7 separate regions of the Homo sapiens genome follow, and all the other regions are linked to region 5. The links are contacts of gene promoters, found by promoter capture Hi-C in blood cells and fetal thymus (Javierre and others, 2016). All regions are on one chromosome and are shown on one strand. The core of a region is centred on a gene start or on the middle of the fragment in contact, and the rest is flanking DNA. Distances in the headings are between cores, read along the strand shown. Region 1 overlaps LOC105369302 (a long non-coding RNA gene). Region 2 overlaps USP25 (ubiquitin specific peptidase 25). Region 3 overlaps LOC105369302 (a long non-coding RNA gene). Region 4 overlaps LOC105369302 (a long non-coding RNA gene). Region 5 holds the start of HSPA13 (heat shock protein family A (Hsp70) member 13). Region 6 has its middle 60 kb from the start of USP25. Region 7 overlaps LOC105369302 (a long non-coding RNA gene).

The links. The method cuts DNA at HindIII sites, captures the fragments that hold promoters and counts their contacts. A CHiCAGO score of 5 or more calls a contact.
Region 1: a contact is called between a fragment that was not itself captured here and the fragment with the promoter of HSPA13 in region 5, in 2 of 17 cell types (total B cells and fetal thymus). The highest score is 6.0, in total B cells.
Region 2: a contact is called between a fragment that was not itself captured here and the fragment with the promoter of HSPA13 in region 5, in 4 of 17 cell types (naive CD8 T cells, non-activated CD4 T cells, total B cells and 1 more). The highest score is 7.6, in naive CD8 T cells.
Region 3: a fragment that was not itself captured here is called in contact with the fragment with the promoter of HSPA13 in region 5 in 4 of 17 cell types (fetal thymus, total CD8 T cells, M2 macrophages and 1 more); the score reaches 6.8 in fetal thymus.
Region 4: a fragment that was not itself captured here is called in contact with the fragment with the promoter of HSPA13 in region 5 in 5 of 17 cell types (M2 macrophages, endothelial precursors, M1 macrophages and 2 more); the score reaches 7.4 in M2 macrophages.
Region 6: a contact is called between a fragment that was not itself captured here and the fragment with the promoter of HSPA13 in region 5, in 2 of 17 cell types (M2 macrophages and M1 macrophages). The highest score is 6.6, in M2 macrophages.
Region 7: a contact is called between a fragment that was not itself captured here and the fragment with the promoter of HSPA13 in region 5, in 9 of 17 cell types (M0 macrophages, M2 macrophages, naive B cells and 6 more). The highest score is 10.9, in M0 macrophages.

What each region holds. Positions count from the first base shown.
Region 1 is chr21:15,532,280-15,534,991 of GRCh38, forward strand. All of the region lies in intron 2 of LOC105369302 (a long non-coding RNA gene), which reads right to left. Among named protein-coding and RNA genes, the nearest start is that of USP25, 200 kb to the right of the region's middle. The HindIII fragment of the contact is 2,146 bases long and covers 192-2,337 here.
Region 2 is chr21:15,738,389-15,741,226 of GRCh38, forward strand. All of the region lies in intron 1 of USP25 (ubiquitin specific peptidase 25), which reads left to right. Among named protein-coding and RNA genes, the nearest start is that of USP25, 9.8 kb to the left of the region's middle. The HindIII fragment of the contact is 1,076 bases long and covers 1,046-2,121 here.
Region 3 is chr21:15,556,948-15,559,647 of GRCh38, forward strand. All of the region lies in intron 2 of LOC105369302 (a long non-coding RNA gene), which reads right to left. Among named protein-coding and RNA genes, the nearest start is that of USP25, 170 kb to the right of the region's middle. The HindIII fragment of the contact is 841 bases long and covers 1,031-1,871 here.
Region 4 is chr21:15,602,001-15,604,835 of GRCh38, forward strand. The region is part of intron 1 of LOC105369302 (a long non-coding RNA gene); the gene reads right to left. Among named protein-coding and RNA genes, the nearest start is that of USP25, 130 kb to the right of the region's middle. The HindIII fragment of the contact is 2,435 bases long and covers 252-2,686 here.
Region 5 is chr21:14,381,886-14,384,585 of GRCh38, forward strand. HSPA13 (heat shock protein family A (Hsp70) member 13) reads right to left here and starts at 1,261. Exons shown (of 5, transcript NM_006948.5): 1 at 1,210-1,261. The coding sequence starts at 1,234. LOC105369304 (a long non-coding RNA gene) reads left to right here and starts at 881. Exons shown (of 2, transcript XR_007067924.1): 1 at 881-2,700. RefSeq lists enhancers at 968-1,277, 1,668-1,797. The HindIII fragment of the contact is 7,322 bases long and covers 358-2,700 here.
Region 6 is chr21:15,668,749-15,671,448 of GRCh38, forward strand. No RefSeq gene overlaps it. Among named protein-coding and RNA genes, the nearest start is that of USP25, 60 kb to the right of the region's middle. The HindIII fragment of the contact is 1,710 bases long and covers 595-2,304 here.
Region 7 is chr21:15,584,155-15,587,001 of GRCh38, forward strand. The region is part of intron 1 of LOC105369302 (a long non-coding RNA gene); the gene reads right to left. Among named protein-coding and RNA genes, the nearest start is that of USP25, 140 kb to the right of the region's middle. The HindIII fragment of the contact is 1,505 bases long and covers 520-2,024 here.

The sequences.
Region 1 (2,712 bases), core at 15-2,514, 1.2 Mb after region 5:
GCTACAAGACTCTTTCCTATACCATAGGGGAGGCACTTCCTTTCCTTAGCTGCAGTTCAATCTAGCTGGATTTTTTTCCCCCAAAATGTGTAGAAATGGCCTAACTAAATCCTCCTCAAAGAAACTGATCACCAGCCAACCAGCTTCATCTACTGAAATGTCAGTTTCACCTCCACAAGTTTCTTCAACAAAGCTTTTGAATTTTAGTGATTCTAACTTCTTCTCTTTGTTCACTAAGGCTAGGAGTGGTCACTGCTGCCTGCGATTGCTATTTCCACAACTTAATGGTTTTTTATATTTTTTTCCTCTTCTGAGTTACATTAACAACCACTTACTTTTAAAATATTTGTATGGAATCACGTGTGTTAAAGTAATTTCTGTGGTTGTTCTGGATGCTGACTAATAAAAGAGCAGAGGCATCTTCCTTTGGCAAAAGTTACTAACAAATAAGAACTAGTAACATATGTTCATTCATTATTCTCTGTTTTGGGTACTATATTTGTGGTATGAGGCAACTGTGACAGTGGCAGCAAATTTGCTTATATGACCTATGATGACACCTGAGGTAGGTGACTGTGAAATGAAATTTCAGCATCACCCCTTATCCCCAAAATGCTCTCCTCCAGCTCTTCCAATGACCTTTCAAGTGCCTGTTATATTCTTCCCTCCTTGTAACATCTAGAGTGATTTTTGTTTCCTGAACTGAATTCTAATAGATATATAGGCGATTTATCAAAAGAGTGCAGTAAACAACATACTCAGTAGTGAAATTTTAAAATTATTCCCCATAAAATCAGGTGTGAGATAAGTATGCTCCTTCTCACCATTTCTATACAACATTGCATTGGAAGCAATAGAGCTGAAGAAGTAAGTGGAAAATGGTAGGGAAGAAAACAAAATTGTCATTATTTGCAATTGATAAGATAATCTACATAAAACCCCCAAACATAGCTTTATGGAAAATTAGTATGTATCACAGACATAAATACATTCGATGCTGCACTGTGTCTACTTTTGTAAGACAGGAAGAATATATCTGAAATGTTTAGTAACCTTTTTTCAAAAGCAGATGAAATTACATCCAAAATCATCAATAACTGAAGAAGTCTAATAGGGCTTACTTCTAGAGGATTCCAGGTGAATGGATACAACCTTGAGCTAATTGCACAAAAGAAATTGTGTCTATAAGCAGGTCAATTAGCTTGTTTCACTAGAACACAGTTAAAAAGGTAGTTCTCCAATCACTTTGATTTTCAGAAGAGCTATGAGCTTGATTCTTAATGATTATTTAACATAGTTGAGCTTTAATGGTTAACTTGAAATTTTAAAACCATAAAACTTTATAGAAAATGAATATCAAAAGTAAAGAAGCTGTTAAGACCACAGTCACTGTACATAGGAATTTTATCTCACTGCTGTAAATCGTGAAATCCTGCCCTCAACCATAGTGTACGAACATGGCCATTTCAAAGATGCACCTCTGTGACATTTCCCTGGATTTCTCCACGTAGGAATTTCAGCGGTTATTCTCTGCAGGTAATTGCAGCTTCCAGAATAACCCCAGGTCACTGAAACACCTTGGCTCTACAAACAACCCATTATTAGGCAGATTACATCAAGAAAATCCATCCTGCTACTGCTGTGGAGATGTGAATTTATGACATTGAAGAAAAAAAACATGCAAAGAGGTTTCTGGAGTCTCTCTGTGGTGAAGGCAATGCTCTATGGACACATTTTATTCAATCACACTTAATGAATGAGCCTCACTCCTTGGTTTTCTTCATCCTCTCTGTCTCGTAGAATCCTTCTAGGGAGATATATATATATATATATATAGTAGCTGTGAATTAACATTTGTTCTCTAAAAACACAAAACTTGGTTTCTACTATCATACACTTAATACAAAACTCCCACAGTTCGTCTACGACCATTGTCTCCATCAGGGTCAGGTGAGAGGATGGAAAACATACGAGATTTTGAACAGGGAGAATGTAATGTAAATAATTGTCAACCAGGTATGAAGTTGTGAACTAGGAACTGAAAAGATAAAAAGAGGACGCTAATGTATCATGGAGGCAGCAAATGTAGGAAGCAGATACCATCCTTATGGTTAAAAAAACTAAGGGACATGATTGGATTTATTAAAATTTAGAAACTTAGAGGAGGGGTCTTGCATAACTGAAACTCAGGGCTTTGAGGAGGGCTACTGGTTCAGTTGCTCAACAGATTCTGGTGTCTTTGAGCTTGGAAGAGCGGTCCCAAGGGGCTGAGACCCAGACTGTAGAAAACAGGATACTGTTAGCAGATGCTGGTGATTGTTAACTGTGACACAGTGAAGCTTGTTTCACAAGTGTTTAAAAAACTGTTAACTGAATTCAGCTACTGCATACAGAATTACTACTCCTGCCTGGGTGAAGAAGCGCTGCCAAAATGATGCTTACAGGAACTGCAAACGGACAGGAAGTCAACAAGGAGTAAATAAGAAAGACCAGGTTCCTTCTTTCTCCTCCAGTCCTAGTCTCCGTCTTGTGCCCCCTTTTGGCAGAGCATAACAGGAAATCAGGGGGCAAAGCAGAAATAAGGTTTGCAGAGTTCCAGCTTCAGGATCATGAAGCAATTATAGAAATGTGGTTTGAGCTGAGAGACAATAGCTGAGTAAGTGGCACAACCATACACCGAAAAGTCTTCTGAAATAACTGAAAATTGATTCA
Region 2 (2,838 bases), core at 334-2,833, 1.4 Mb after region 5:
GATCTTTATGATACAGGATGAGCAGGATATACTATTTTTATTAGGTCGTGTTTAATATCTCTTGTATGGTTTATAATTTAACACAAAACTATTGTACATCTTTTGTTTCAGGTAGTTGATAATTTCTGATAACTGTTATATGGCAGTGCTTTTAAAAATTTGTTATTGGTGTATGCAAATGCAGTGGTCTTTTGTATGTTAATTTTATACCTAGCCACCTTGCTAAATGTTTCTAATACCTTTTCCAGAGACAATTTTGTACTTTCTGTGTAAAAGATCATATCATTAAGGGAGGAGACCACGCCTCATATTGTCTTATGCCCAATTTCTGCCCTCAAAGAAAGAAAAAGTAAAAACTAAAAGGCAGAAATGAAATCCACAAGCAGACAGCCCAGGGCCACACCCTGGGCCTGGTAGTTAAAGATCGACCCCTGACCTAATCAGTTATGTTATCTATAGATTACAGACATTGCACAGACACTGTGAAAATCCCGATACTGTTTTGTTCAGATCTAATTACCGGTGCATGCAGCCCCCAGTCACATACCCCCTGCTTGCTCATTTGATCATGACCCTCTCACACGCACCCTCTTAGAGTTGTGAGCCCTTAAAAGGGACAGGAATTGCTCACCCCGGGAGCTCGGCTCTTGAGACAGGAGTCTTGCTGATGCCCCCAGCCGAATAAACCCCTTCCTCCTTTAACTCGGTTCTGAGGAGTTTTGTCTGCGGCTCGTCCTGCTACATCATGATTAAAAAGTTTTATGTATAATTTCAGTTTTTGTGCCTGTACTTTCATTTTTTTTCCTGTACTAGCAAATACTTCCAATAAATATTGATTAGAAGTGATAACAATGAGTATTTTTTTGTTCTTGCTGATCTAAAAAGGCAGTTACCTACTTTTGTACCTCATGCATTTCTGAAATATTTACATGTGTTAGTTGTGCAGATTTACAAAGTAGGTTCTGTTTAACTAAAAGATATTGTAGTATTTTCAGTCGTGATGCTTGCAGGTATTTTTTCTTTGGGTACTGGTGACCTTTGTTTAAGCTTTCACCCTAGGTATCCTGGGTGTGGTGGTGGAGGGGTGCTGGTAGTTTGTCAGTCTCTTCTCTGTCATCCTAGGAACTGTGAAGTCAGGCAGGGCACTTTTTTTTTGTATTAGTGGCCCTCACTAATTTCCTTCTCCAGGGGCCACTCCACAATTGATTTCTGCCCTGATGTGCTTAGAGTAAGGTGTCTACAGGGTCTTTCTTCCCCTGACACTGGCATAATTTTACTCTCTAATGTCATAGAATTGCTTTAAGCACTGACCTGCAGCAGTGGCCTGCCTTTTTCCTACAATATAATCACTGATTTTTGTTATGTTTGAAGGACCAAATTTGGCTTGTGAAAGTGAGTTTAGGAATGTCACTATATAATGTGAGCAAGTAGATGATGTGAAAGTTGAATTTATAAAAGGATGAGGCCTTGCATTTATTTTGGCAGACTTTAATTAATTTCCAAGGACATCATCCTTGTCATGACATCTTGTTTTATGTATGTAGTAAGTAATTTTTCAGTTTTTCTCTTTTTTGCCCCTTGATTAACTCTGCTTCAGTACAGACCATCTGCTTTATTTTTAGTTTTTGGTTCTCTGAACTGCTGGATATTTTAAATGCCCAGCAATATTTTCCTTAGTCTTGTTACTATAGGTTTAGATCAGTTTCGTATAATATGGTTTTTATGGACTGTCTTAATTATCTGTAGTGCTTGCTAAAAGTGCAGACTTCTGTGCCTCACCCTAGACGTATTGTTTCAAGATGTTGAGGGTTGGGCTAAAGCCTGCTTAATAAGAATCGCAGATTATTCTTCTGCACTTAATGTTTGAGGATCACTGGTTGAAGTTAATTAGTATTCTTAAAGGTAAAAGTGCCTTGAGCACTGTGTAAATTGACTGCAGGGGTCCTTTAGGGATTGAATTATCACAATACACCAAATTTAATATGGAAGCAGGGTCTTTGAACGGACATTGTTTTTTTTTGTTTCAGGTGTTTCTCTCCATCAGTGCAGCAACATGTTTCCTTGTAGAGGAGCTGTCTCCTCCCTCAGGCTTTTCTGGCCAACATCTCTATGGAAACCCAAAGCTTCAGGTGGCTAGGTGGGATACTTGCCCCTCTTACTCCTGGAGGCACAAATAAGTTGAATCGATGGATTAAGGAGTTGGAAAGTGATTGTACATGCTAAAGTTGTAATCTTCCTGTTTCTTTCTGGCTGTTTTTTTTTTTTTTTTTTTTTTTTTTTTTTTTTGGTATGTGCGTGTGTATTTGTGTATGAATAATTCCTATAGGATTTTTTTGTGGGGGCTAACCATAGCATATGAAAACTTATGTACAACTTAAATATATTAAGATTAGTATTCTTTGTACAATTTTAGACATGAAATAGAATATCTTATTGTCCTGGAAATTTCCTTTGTTCCTCATTCATACTGTCCCTCTTTTCTACACCACCCCCCACCCCCACACTACTGCTATCTTGACTTTTTTCAAGTTAATGTTATCGTGGTATGATTTACACTGAAAGTGTGTAATTTGATGAATTTGGCCATACAGAACATTTCTGTCACTCCACAAAATTTGTCCTGTATCACCTTTCTCATTAATTATCAACACCGTCATTATTTCAGGCAACTGTTGATCTGATTTTTATTACTGTAGATCAGTTTTGGCTGTTCTGGGTCTTCACATCGATTTGTTTATACCAAATTTTTTTTTTTTCTCGCATCTGACTGCTTTTGCTCAGCAAAAAGCTTTTGAGATTCACCCATGTTTTATTGCATGTATCAATATGTTTCTTTTT
Region 3 (2,700 bases), core at 201-2,700, 1.2 Mb after region 5:
AAAAATCTCCCATATTCAGGGTGCTTTTGTATAACAGCTGAGCTGGTTCAAGTGTCCCAGAGAGAATGGGACTGAACACTGTTCATGCTCATTATCGTTTATCTAAAAACTAAAGTTATTGGTTACAGAGCGTTGTTTAGATACTATGGCAATAAATCATTTTTGTGAGCTGCTGTGATGAAACATATATTGTCCTTCAATATAAGCAATCAACAGCAACGGTGTTTCTTGTTCTACTTCAAACTGTTGGTCCCTGGAAAATCTACAGAACAAAATCTCTTAATGTCACAGTATATTATGTGTTTCAGAAACTCTACATGAAATCATTCATGTACATTCATTCTACGTGAATTCTACATTCATTCTACATGAATGAATAAAATGGCAATCAGTAAATGGAAGAGATAAATAGACAATGAAGAAACAAAATTGGCTAATTCACAAGCCAGGTAATCTCTGAGGAATACCAGAGTATGCCACCCTAAAATATGCCTCTTTGGATTATGGATTATTTTGAGCTAAAAGCCATTAAAAACCAGCAGCAGGAAAAGCTCTAAAAATAAAGCACAGATTTTCCTTTTACTGGGGAAGTCTCCATTTATAGAGGTGTCTCCCTCATACCAGGAAGAGGAGGACTCTTAACAACTCTTAACTCTTATCAATGGAGAAAGCACCAATTTAAATCTGCAAACAAATCTTAATAAACAACCCTTGTTTGCCATTCTTTTCTCTTGTCACCTTCCCATAACTTGCCTCCTTCCACCCACAACATGAAACCCTTTTTCTTTAGTCTAAGATGGTATATAATCCTAAATTCTAACCACCCCCGTAGGTCACTCATCTCTGGGTACTCGCGTGTGTAAGCACAACACATGTGTTAATGATATAGGAGTTAAAAAGAAATTATTTAGGCAGATAGTGAGGCTAAGGAAGGTTTTCCTTTTAATAAAAAGCAGCCCCCAAATCATTTTCTTTTCTAACAAAGAGCAGCCTGTAAAATCAAGCTGCAGACATACATATGCAAGCTGGAAGCTTGCATGGGTGAATGTTAGCAGTTGTGTCAGTAGGAAAAGGCTACCTATGACTAGGCATAATCAAAATGGCGGCTCCATCTTCCCTTCACTTTGCCAGCCACATGTACAGTAAGAAGCAGACAAGATGACGCTGGCCAAGTGGAAAGTCCATTTGCATAATAAGATTAGGGTGGTGCAACCAGCCTTCCCTGGCCCCACCCCTCGCTATGTAAACGTCACACCTGGTAGAACCAATCTGTGGCCCTATGTAAATCAGACACTGCCTCCTCATGCCTGCCTATAAAATCTGCTGTGATCTGCTGCAGGCTGGCTTTTCCCTTTCAGACACCTCACTTCAGATAGCTGCTGTCCTCTCTTCTTTCTTCTGCCTATTAAACTTTTTGCTCCTTAACCCACCCACATGTGTCCATGTTCTTAATCTTCTTAGTGCAAAATGATGAACCCCGGGTATTTACCCCAGACAAGGATGCCACTTCACTAATAAACTATTGTTTGTTTTTCTCTTGTTAATCTGTTTTTGGACAGTCTAATTTATAGAGCCCCAGCTGAAGAATCTAAGATGGATAGAGAAAACGATTTTTTCCTCACCTACATCTGTAATTATATTAGTTTGAGGGTAAATATGAAGCAATAATGATCACTACTTGGTAATCTCCTTTACCAATCCTCTGTAATTTGGTAAATTATAAAGCAAAGTTATAGCCAATTCTCATGATTCAGGCTTCTTTTTATAGCATTATGTCTAATATATCTGATTCATGTCTATTGTTTTAGTAATAACATGCCAACCTCATGGAAACCAAAAAGTATCTCAGACAGCTCTCAATCAATTTAGAAAGCTTATTTTGCCAAGGTTAAGGATGCACGCCTGAAAGGCAGGTCTGTGCCTTTCTCCAAAGATGGTTTTGAGGGCTTCAATGTTTAAAGGTGAAAGAGTGGGTATTTGGGAAAGAGAAAGAAATTTTCAAAAGGTGTGGGTAGACAAATGGTTGCATTCTTTTGAATCTTTGATCAGCCTTTCACTGAATACACAATTTACATGTCGGTGGTGTGGAGGAATAGACACTTATGCTGTCATCTGGCTCACTGAATCAGCATTTTTACATCAGAGGAAACAATCAGATATGTGTTTGTCTCAAGTGATCAGAGGGATGACTTAGAGTTCTGTCCTTTGTCCTGCACCTGTAAAGATAAGCTGTCTATTTCACTGTCAGAGTAAAATTCAACAGAACTGTCATAGGGTGAAGATCTTGAAGTCCACAAGGAATTTCCTAGTGGGCAAATTGTGAGGGAGGTATATACTTTGTATTTTTGTAGCTATCTTATTTAGGAATAAAATGGGAGGTAGGTTTGCCTGATGTGATTCCCAGCTTGACTTTTCTGTTTGGCTTAGTGATTTGGGGGTCCCGTATTTTCCTTTCACACTCACAGTAAAATTTTAATACCCTCAAAATCTGCAGGACAAAACTCACACATAAAGCTCCTTGAGAAGTTACTAGAGGTTAAATGGGTCCGAAGGGCTCTTTCCATTCTAGGAGAAGGATCATGATACTATGATAAGGTCACTAATATCAGCATCATTTATTTATTTAACAAATAATATTGAGTACCTGTGGTGGATTTATATCATGTCAACTTAGCTAAGGTGTAACCACAGTTTTCAGAC
Region 4 (2,835 bases), core at 219-2,718, 1.2 Mb after region 5:
AGTTTCCAATGGTTATTTGTAACATTCCATGTAAATATCTGAATGCATCTAACATACATGTAGAGTAGTATTTTTAATATTGCCTTTGCATTTTGTTTAAAACCAAATGGATAGTAGCCACTTATAACCCATTTATTATGTATAGCTGTTTTAATACTTTCCAGGAGGTTATGTTCTTTTGACCCTCTGAGGTTTCTTCCCATAGTTTCACCCTACTTTTGCTTTCATTCTAATCCTTAAAAGAGCATGAAAGCTTATTCTTTTCCTCCCTGAGTAAATAAAACCAATATAGTTATGTCATCTTGTGGCCCTTTGTGTATTTTAGGCCAATTTTTTTTTCCTTTCATGAAAGCAACTATTGACACAAAACTATTTAAACAACTATTATTTACATCTATAGGAAAAAATACTACTGATTTTTATAAAACAGTTGCCAGAGAATTATGATTAAGGGCAATTTACGAAAGGCATGAGTGTTACGGCCATTGCTCAGGGCAACAACTAGTTGGGAAGAAACAAAAATAATTTGTTACAAAAGAAAAGTGAGTTAGTAATGGAAAAGTCTAGAAGATAAGTGTTTGATGAGTATATGAAGACTAATTTTGACATTTTCATTCTCAGCTTCTTGTAAGTAGGAGAAAAGAGTTCAGTTTTAGACAATCAAATGGAAAATTCTAAAAGGTACATTTAAGAATTTCTTAATCTTTTCTCATAATCTAATCAGACTGACTATATCACAAATAGTTGTCATGGAAAAGAAAAAAGTGTAGGCAGCTAAGGGAAGGAGATAGAGGAAACAAAAAAAGAACAGTTGATAAAATATCCAAAATTGCATAATACATTAAACTTATAATTTTTCAAATGTCTTTATATAGTCACTTGGAGATGATGATTAACTGTATTAGTTTCTTCAAAACACACTTGGGAAGGTTTTAACGAAGTTATATAAGTACCAGTGTTCACAGTATGGCAGGAGAATTTTATCTTAGCAACTGGTATTAGTGATCTAAAAATGTTTCGCCCTTCTATGAGCACCCTAAAATCTGTTCTTACACACACCCTCCAGATTTTTTCCAACTTAAATTAGCAAGTCTTTGACTCTTTTTATGTATATGACATCAACCAAACTTGCAAGTTTTTAATTTGTAGTTTATTCCCTTTGCTATACTGACACCAAACTCTAGTGACAGGTGTGGACAAAGTAGGGATAAGAGAGACGTGTGGGTAATGGACTGTTTCTTTAAGGAAATCACTATGGTGAGGCGGCAACAAAATAATCCTCAAGCAATGGAGAAAGAACTCTCAGACAAGAAAAAGAAATCTGCTTTTGAAGGTAGGAGATGCTTCATGGAAGGTGGGCGAAAACCACCTATAGATCTGATTTCTGGTTCTTGAATTTAGATATTTGGGTTTAAAATTCCCTCCCTTTACACCATCTAATTCTACTAGAGTCATGCCACCATACAGGTCTTCCATTTTTGCTACCATACTTTGGTGGCAACAATGCTGTCTCCCAAACTTTGTTCCCAAGGGCACACAGGATGACATAATTAGCAGTACACAGGATGACTTAATTAGCAGTTTTCACAACTCTTTGTCATGGATTACTGAATTCCAAAACCAAAATATTAGGGAACTTCAACTAGATGCATTCAGACCAGACAACCAATCCCATTTTCTCCATATTTTCCCAGGGATATTTAGTTTGTGTCTATCTGCTTTGCTTTCTGTATCAATTAAGAGGTTGTTTTGCAATAAGTAACAGAAACATACTGTGGATAGCTTAAATACGTATACTTTAAGGATATCAAGAGCTCACTATATTAATAGAAGGCTTGTCTGAAGCAGCATCTCTTAGCATCTCATCTGGCCCAGATGTGGGCACTGCTGTTGAGAATGAATTGCTATCGTTCTTGTATGCACCACGAAGTAAAGATTCCAAACCATGTGTGGAAAATCCAGTTGAGAGAACTAAATCATCGTAACTGCTTGGCCGCCAGGCTGTTCCTTATCCTCTTTGCCCTTTGCAGTGGGAAATAAGATACTGCCTTCCAAAAGGAATCATCACGGTGGGAAATTACCTGCAAATAGGACACCACGCCAGCTCAAAATACAAGTGGGTACTGAGGTTCCTTATCCTTAGATGTTGCTATCCTTATACTCAGCATAATCTTCACCATTGACTAAAATGCCCTCTAATGTAGATAACTTGTATTTGCCTCTTAGAGAACTCTGAACTGCTGCCACCTTGAACATGTCTTGGCTTCTTTTTTCCCCCTAGTAAGGATCAAAAGCAAGTTTTTTTTCATTGTAATTGTTCAGTCATCGTCAATCTATTAACTTGTGTTGATTTGCAAGGCGGCAGCCAAATGACTGTCACAATAACAAAAGCCAAGTCTCCTTTGATTGTAGAATCATCAATAATATTTATTCACTTGTCTCTGGCATGAGACAATTACTTTTCTGCTCCAGAAAGGCCGTTTTAATTGAACTTGTATTTCCTGCTTCCCAGGCATTTTGAGTAGGAAGAGGGCAGACCTCCTCACCATCTAATGCAATTGTTTTGCATCATCTTAATTTGAGTGGAGGCTGACATTCCTGAATTCCTGACTACATGCCAAGCTGTGGGGTGTGGCAAACAGCTCAGTTGTTTTAATTCCAGAAACTGAGTGATGACATTTTGCTAAGCTTCTGTCATATACGCCCTCATGAAGGGTGGGAAAATTTTGAACTCTGGGCTTCAGTTTATGTGTTATGTTTAGTAAGTGTGTAAGTAACTAAAGCACCTTTGTTTACTTGGTTTTGACATTTGGAGAATGAGGTTTTCTCACCACA
Region 5 (2,700 bases), core at 11-2,510:
ATATAATCTAATATTCTTGATCAATTGATATTTAGATTTTACAGCTTTATAAAAAGCTTCGATTATCTTTTTTTAAAAGCTCCATTATTAAAATTCTCACAAGAAAAACTTTATTATTTTATAAGTCTAAAATTCTCTCCTCGTATCTCACCTCCTTTTCCCTTTCAAAAGGATGAAATGAATAAATGGGATAAAATGATTTTGAAAGTTCCTTAGATATGAAACTGTCACTTCAAAACAGAACACAGTTAACTTTTTATGTATTTAAGTATGAACTAGGGACTTCCTTCTTGCAGTGGTAATATTTAGGGGAGAAGAAGCATAAAGGTGGGCAACCCTGACGGCAACATCTATGAAAGCTTCTTGAAGACAAGTTTCGTTCACTGTTGTATCCCCCAGACCAGGAATAGCAGATGCCCAACAAATACTAATTTAAAAAAAAAAGAAAAAAGAGTAGGAACAAATGCCACGCAGATTGTAAACATAAGCGAAGAAAGATGCCCCTTTAGTTTTTAATGAATCTCGTATTTGGTATCAGGAGGCTGTGTTATACACCTGTGTCCGCTCATATTACATATGACCCAAAACATGAATTTTCAGGGCTCTGTGTTACTAATTGTTAGCTCATCCTCATCAACACATAACTCAAAGAAATAAAACCAAGTGCGAATCCCACTTTCCACTTCCAGCTACAGGCAACATTTCAGAAGCATTTCATCACCTTGGAGACGCGGGGTGGGTGTGTGTGTGGGTGGGGGATAGGTAATTCCAAACCCGATGTGATGGAAAAAGCCTCCAAATTCAGCATCCCTGAGCCGACAGATCCGGATGTAGCTCCTCCCCCTTCCTCCACAAAGGGGTCCTGGAGGTGCACGTTCTCGCAGCCTTCCATAGCTTGCCCCAATTCAACAGGCAATTCAAAAACCTAGGTGCTGTTGAAAGGAACGCCTCCCTAAGCCTGATGTCCCTGGGATGGACACAGCTGGTCGCCGTCTATCCTACCTTGGCCTGCAGGGGCCGGGGCCCTCCTAGAGGCGTCCCCGCCCCCATCCACTCCGAACAGCCGAAAACCGTCTCTAAGTCACCTTTCTGACTCCCCTTCCGCTGCTCCAGCTAGATCCAGGAGGTGAGTCAACCACCCCTGCCCACTCTGGCATCCTCAGATCGCCTCTACGCCCGCAAGAGCAACAAGGACCCCCGGGAACCCACCTAAGATCGTCATCTCTCTGGCCATCACAGTCCCGCCGAACAGGCTTGTGATGACTGTACCAGACGTGAGGCACCGCCCCCACTCCTCCCGGCAGTCCCGCAGCCCCCTGGGAAATGTAGTCCGCTTGCTCTGAGGCAATCGGAGAAGCTATCGCTCTGACCAAAGCAAGGACTTCATCTACCGTGAGGGCGCGGGGCAAAGAGCCTCCATTCAACCGCTGCCAGTGACGACTGAGTCCCCCTTCCACGCAACGGCCGGCAGGACCAGTGAGACTGAGGGGGAGGAGCGCCGTGGCGAGAGACTGGCGTTTATAATCAAACCTGTGGTCCCGCGATCCTACTTGAGGGAAAACAGGCTATCTCTTTAGCCCCGCCCCGCGCTTTGCATTCTGGGAAGCGGAGTTCCAGCCTTTCTCTTTCCGCGGGAGGGAATGAAAGGGAGGGTGAGAACCGTTAGTTATTTCTTTCTTTGGTCGTGCCCCTAATCAGGTCCAGGATTCGAGTTTGTGTTCTTTCGTTTTAATTCCTTTTAAAGCGCGTTCGTTTGCCTGAGATCTAGCTTCTAGATGGCGTTCCTATAGCCTCCCGGAGCCCCAGCCATCCTCCGTAGAAGGGTCCCTGCCGCAGTGCGGGGCCTGAGGGAAGTCGGCTCTGGCGTCCGTGCTCCAACGCTGGGAGCAGCCCTGAAACTCCAGTGACCCTCAGCCGTCTGCCTTTGTTTTGGGATAAATGAATTCAAGCATTCTTCAGTCAATTCGATTTATCCAAGGGATCAGGGACACATTTTCTCTATTGCTAGCACTGACGTGGGCCATTAAAAACAAAAACAAAAACGAAATTAAAAAGAAAACCCTTAGCTCTCTCTTCAAGTAAGTCTTAAGTGGCCAAAATTGACCTTATGGGCAAGTCCTGTAACGTGACAGCCATTTTAGGACGCTTGTGACATGCTGTTCAGGTTCTAGTCTGAAGTAGGATTTTTCTCGCATCTTGGTCACTGGTAGCACTTAATGACTCCTCTGAGAGTGGTTTTGTCATTTTTGCTGTTAGAGTTCACGATAACTAAGATCCTGGAGAATTGAATCCATTTTCTCAGCTTAGATATAAATCAAACCATCCCTGTTGACAACACGTCAGCCTGCTGTGGGAATACATTGCTGGTTATTTCTGACTTATCAATGTGAATTTTGATTATGGAAGCTGAATTCTGGTTGATAGGGATCCATTGTAATGTTCTCTCTACTTTTGCGCATTTTTAAGTATTTCATAATGCGAAATATAAAAAGTGTGTGTCTATAGTGAGTGCTGTTCAATAAGATTCTTATAAGGAGTGAAGAATTCAAGCACTTAGTTCTTAAGTATTACTTGTAATGGGCAGTGGGCTGGAGGTGTTCCAGGCAGACGGAACTCAATTACCAAGAGCACAGAAGCAAGAGATCATCTATTCCATAGATTAGAAAGTGGTGGATCATAAAGCATGAGGTAGAATTCTGA
Region 6 (2,700 bases), core at 200-2,699, 1.3 Mb after region 5:
ATTAAGGGACCCAGACACAGGGATGTTCATGTGAATTTGAATCAGGTAATGGGCATAGGCAGATGTATACTAAATAAAGAATTTAATTTTGGTTAACAGTCACTAAGTACATCTTCCTTAACTTTTCCCTCATTTTTTTCTCATTTATTTAAATTGTCCTATCTTAAAAACCCAAAGTGGCAGCTGGGTGCAGTGGCTCACGCCTGTAATCCCAGCACTTTGGGAGACTGAGGCGGGTGGATCACCTGAGGTCAGGAGTTCAAGACCAGCCTGACCAACACTGAGAAACCTTGTCTCTACTAAAAACACAAAATTAGCTGGGCGTAGTAGCGCATGCCTGTAATCCCAGCTACTCGGGAGGCTGAGGCAGGAGAATCGCTTGAACCCGGGAGGCGGAGGTTGTGTTGTGCCGAGATCATGCCATTGCCATTGCATTCCAGCCTGGGCAACAAGAGCGAAACTCCATCTCAAAAAAAAAAAAAACAAAAAAACACCAAAGTGGCTAGTGGGATATGATCAGGGAGTGGTGAGATGGGAGAAGAGAGTGGATTTTGACAGGTTTTTGTGGATTATGAGAAGTGGTAGAAGAATTGAAGCTTCTGCTGTCCCTGTCAGACCAAAGGAGTAGGAGGAGTTCCTGCTGTGAACTGAGAAGCTGGTGATGTTATCTCAAACGCAGCCAAGCTCTTTCCAAAGTAAGAATCAGTAACTGTTTATATAAAGGGCAGGATTGCCCAACTGCAATCTGTTTGTGAGATGGGTGTTAAAATGCTTTGGGGCACCTCCCACTACTCCTGATTATAGGGAATTAGGTTAGCATTGTTGAGGGTAAGGGTTTGAGGACGGTGCTTGACACCTACCTCCCCACACCTTTCAGAGGTGTATATCAGTAATACAGAGGAACTGTCAAAAATACAAGAAATCAACTAAATCAATTACGATCCTGAAGTTGCATTGTTATGTGCTTACTAACAGTGAGAACATTTTGTTGGAAAAAATAGTATAAAGTATACTAACCTAAAAATGCTATTAACACTTTGATCCAGAGATGATACAAAAATATTTTACAACTGGTATGGCATAAACAATGACCTATTAAAATGAGCACAGACCAGACTGTTGGGAAAAGGGCTCTAGAGGTCTGCTGATACAGGGAAGGGGCTGAGATGAACAAGGTGTTAACATGTACTTCACTCTTTAACAACTGGCACAGACGAAACCTTGTGTATACTACCCGAATATTAGCCCTGCCTTTTCCTAATTTGTGTATACTACCTGAATATTAACCCTGTGGATGATATTACCAATCCCACCACTCTTGGTCTCTAACAGCCTGATGTTCTGCCTAATATTGAAAAGGACTTGCTTATTCACAATGGCACATGACTTTGCATCTCTTGCTGTATACGTTTTTTTTTTATTTATTTATTTTTTGTTTTTCTTTTTGAGATGGAGTCTCGCCCTGTCACCCAGGCTGGAGTGCAGTGGCACAATCTTGGCTCACTACAACCTCCGCCTCCTGGGTTCAAGTGGTTCTCGTGCCTCAGCTACCAAGTAGCTGGGATTACAGGCGCATGCCACCACGCCTGGCTAAGTTTTGTACTTTTAGTAGAGACGGGGTTTTGCCATGTGCCCAGGCTGGTCTCGAACTCCTGACCTCAGGTGATCTGCCCACCTCGGCCTCCCAAAGTTCTGGGATTGCAGGCATGAGCCACCATGCCCGGTCTTGCATATATATTTTACTGCACTTCAATCATTTAGCATTTTAACATTGACTTGTTATGGTTTCTTTACCAGAAATTTTGATTCATATGAAAATAATGTCAAAACAAATTCTGTTGTTTTTCACAAAAATTCTGAGTTTGGCTGCCATATTAATCAAGGGTAATAATGTGTGAAATAGTGGAATATTTCATTGAATGTTCGGTCAGCATACAGCTACTGCCACTATAAATTTAGATAATAATAAAATCTCATGTCGACTGTGTATCAAAATTTATCAGTAAACGGCAAATGGTTAAAACAGCCATGAGTTTTTAAAGAGTATTGGTATTAAAATTTGCGATTCTTAGGATGTTTTATATATGTCTTATTCTACATATGTCAAACGGTTAGATATGCCTTCTTAAGTTCAGCTGGGTATGGTTTTTATGTGATTACTTCAGCTAATCTACTGTTGAATGTAGTGATTGTGGTAAAATCATACCTAAGAATTTATCAACAAATAGCGGCAAGTAACAAGTAGGTAAATAACTATAGGAATTATGTTTATATGCCAATGCTTAGTAAATCTTTTTGAAGTTAAGCTTTGAATTTTACACATTGCTGTATTAAACAACTCCAACTATTTTGACTTTAAAAAGTGCAAAAAATTGTTTATAAGAAATTAATGCCTTCCTAAATATTTTTATATGATTGAAATTGTAAAGGGTAAAAGTATAAGTAATGCAGAATTATTTCTGAGAACTCTAAGAAGAAATCTAAATACAATAGTAATAAGAAAACAAATGGTCTAAGAGCCAAGACAAAACTCTGTCACATCTAAAATGGAAATAGTACTCTGAAATAAGAAAGAGTAACTAGAAATGGAAAGCCCCAGTTGCAGTCAGCCGAGATCACAGCCACAACTACCCAATAAGAAGAAATGTAACATGGGAAGGATGTTTCTAATATCGGTACTTAGGTCAGCTATAATGCCTG
Region 7 (2,847 bases), core at 22-2,521, 1.2 Mb after region 5:
ACTTCCACTGAAGAGTCTTTTATTTGGGCAGAGCCTTCAGCCTCAGATGCCAGGTGCTAATCACAAGTGACAGCATAACCGTGTCTATCAAGATGGCCGTCTTGAGCTGGTGAAGTCTTGCTATTCTTATGGCCCCGGAGTCTTCTGGTGAGGACTGAATTGATAGTAAAGAGTGTGCCTGGTTATGTCCTTATCTGATTGATTGCTGTCTCTATTGATTAGGCGAACATCTGATCGCTGTTGGTATGATGCCTGTTGGTATGATGCATTCTGAAACATAAGATGAGTCTTTTTCTAAGATGGAGTTACAGATGTCAAGGGTGCTCTATAAACAGCACCATTCAGTCCTTCAACACTTTTCACAGGTATATCTATAACCTACCAATAGACCTTATTGCTAACAATCTCCTCCCCTGTCCAATCCATACCTCAGCCTGAAAGTTCTTTCTAGAATACTGATTAATCATGCCATTTGTCTGCTTTTTGGAGAAAGTTAGAACTTCTGAGAATGGATTTCAAAGCTTTTGAGCCCAACCTGATTTTCCAATCTCACCTCAGTTTATCACTCCCTGCCTACCATACCAAACTCCGCCCATCTCAGAAAGTATAGGAACTTTTGAAGAAGTGTTTCTGATGGAATAGTCTAAACAGTATGCACATTTTGCCAGGCCGTGTGTGTGGTACCACTGTAAATTTTATAATGACACTAGATTTTCCAACCATTTGTTTTTCATCCAAGTATTTCTGATCGTTTTAGTAATAGCAAATTTTTTCACAGTAATTTGTTTTATAAGCATCAGGTAGGATCAGATCTCCCTCATGCAAACACATTATCATCTCTTTAACTTGTGCGGCCCTCACTCCATCCTCCACCCTTTTTCCTTTCAGGAGAAACTTACTTTGTGGTTTCACTCTTATTTTATTTGTTTAAAATGTCCCATCCTGTTAAGCAAAGGATTATTTCTCCAAATGACCTGTATCTTTTCATATTTTTCTCTTTTTTTTGCTCATGATGTTATCTCTACTTGAAAATTCCTTGATATTTGTCTTCAGTGAGCTAAATCCTACAGACATTCAATGCTTACCCCAGACATTACTCCCTCTTCAAAGGTTTCCCTCTTGATATTCCTAACACATCACCTCACATGTGAGTAGAAAGTTGAATTTATTAGGTTGGTGCCAACGTTTGCACCAACCTAATACTTAATCTCCTCATTACTACCACTAACAGAGTCTCAAAAAAGGAAGACATACCTATAACAAAAGTCTAGAAGCAAAAGTTTTGGAGTTAAATGACCTGCTTTTGCCTGGGCACAGTGGCTCACACCTGTAATCCCAGCACTTTGGGAGGCTGAGGCGGGCAGATCATGAGGTCAGGAGATTGAGACCATCCTGGCTAACATAGTGAAACCCCATCTCTTCTAAAAATACAAAAAATTAGCCGGGCATGGTGGCAGGCGCCTGTAGTCCCAGCTACTCGGGAGGCTGAGGCAGGAGAATGGCATGTACCCTGGAGGCAGAGCTTGCAGTGAGCCGAGATCGTGCCACTGCACTCCAGCCTGGGCAACACAGCAAGACTCCGTCTCAAAAAAAAAAAAAAAAAAAAAAAAAAAAGATCTGCTTTTGTTCCCAGTTTACAAATCACTCAAATTTCAATCTACTCTCTTTCTCTTTTGTATTCCCATTGCTCTTTGTAAATACTCTCTTGAAACATTTAACACACTCCTTTTCTCTCACCATACATAAAATCAGGTGGTATGTGTTAATTCATTTCTGACTTTTTCAGGCCTTAATAATCATTAAAAACAATTAAAGAAGATAAGAAGGAAGGAAGGAATGAAGGAAAGAAGGAAGGAAGGAAGGAACGAAGGAAATCATTCTATTCAGATTTCTAATAGCCTGTCTATCTAAACTTGGAGTTGAGGTAATGTATGATCCAAGAGGAAAAAGAAGCAACACGGATAGCTTAAGCGAAAATTAAATTCCTGTAAAGGGTGAAAGTTTACACTTTCTTTTTAGGTGGAAGCTTGATTAGACCACTAGAAAAAAAAAAGAGTTAAATTACTTCTTTCTCTTCCAATAGTCTTGTTTATTACATTGCAGCAAACGTTTGTATATGGAATTGCTTTTTAAAAGCAGGAAATCTGCTTCTCTGTGAACACTGGTTTGTAGCTCCTTTTTCATTTTCTTGACTAACAACTCAGTTCTATAAATTGTTTCAGTAGTTCAATAAACAAGTGCTAAATTGTGAGCTCCCTAAGGATAATGACTGTGTCTTATTCAGTAATGTTTACCAGGAGCCTCACTAATACCAGGAAGGCAAGTTTGCCTACATTTACTCGAGAATATATTGTTGTTAATTCTCTAAAGACCAGTGGAGTACATGTTCTCTCAATGTCTATCCACATGGCAAAACTGTGTGAAGAATAACAACCAGACAGACCTCAAATTTGCTCATTTGATGATTTATCTTGTTTGATGAAAGGCACGATAGCCTAAGAAAACTCTCTTTTCTCAGATACTATTTGCCTCAGATCAATAGTATGCAGAAAATACCATCACAGGACAAAAGAAAATTGTCTTGACTGCAACTAGAGCACAAAGGGGAAAAAGATGTAACAATCTAAATTTCAAGAAAGAAGTCTCAGTTAAAAGCATTGCTCTCAGAAGTCTTTTCTGGTGCCTCTGCAGATGATCCTATTAGATGCTAGCAATTGCTAAGATTGAAATACTCCAAGGTGAGAGAGAATGCTTCGGAAACACAGACTAGATGGCCTATGATTCGTTAACTTTATTAAACAGCACTGTATTTCCTGAACAAACAAAAGAGTACACTGGTATGTTCCT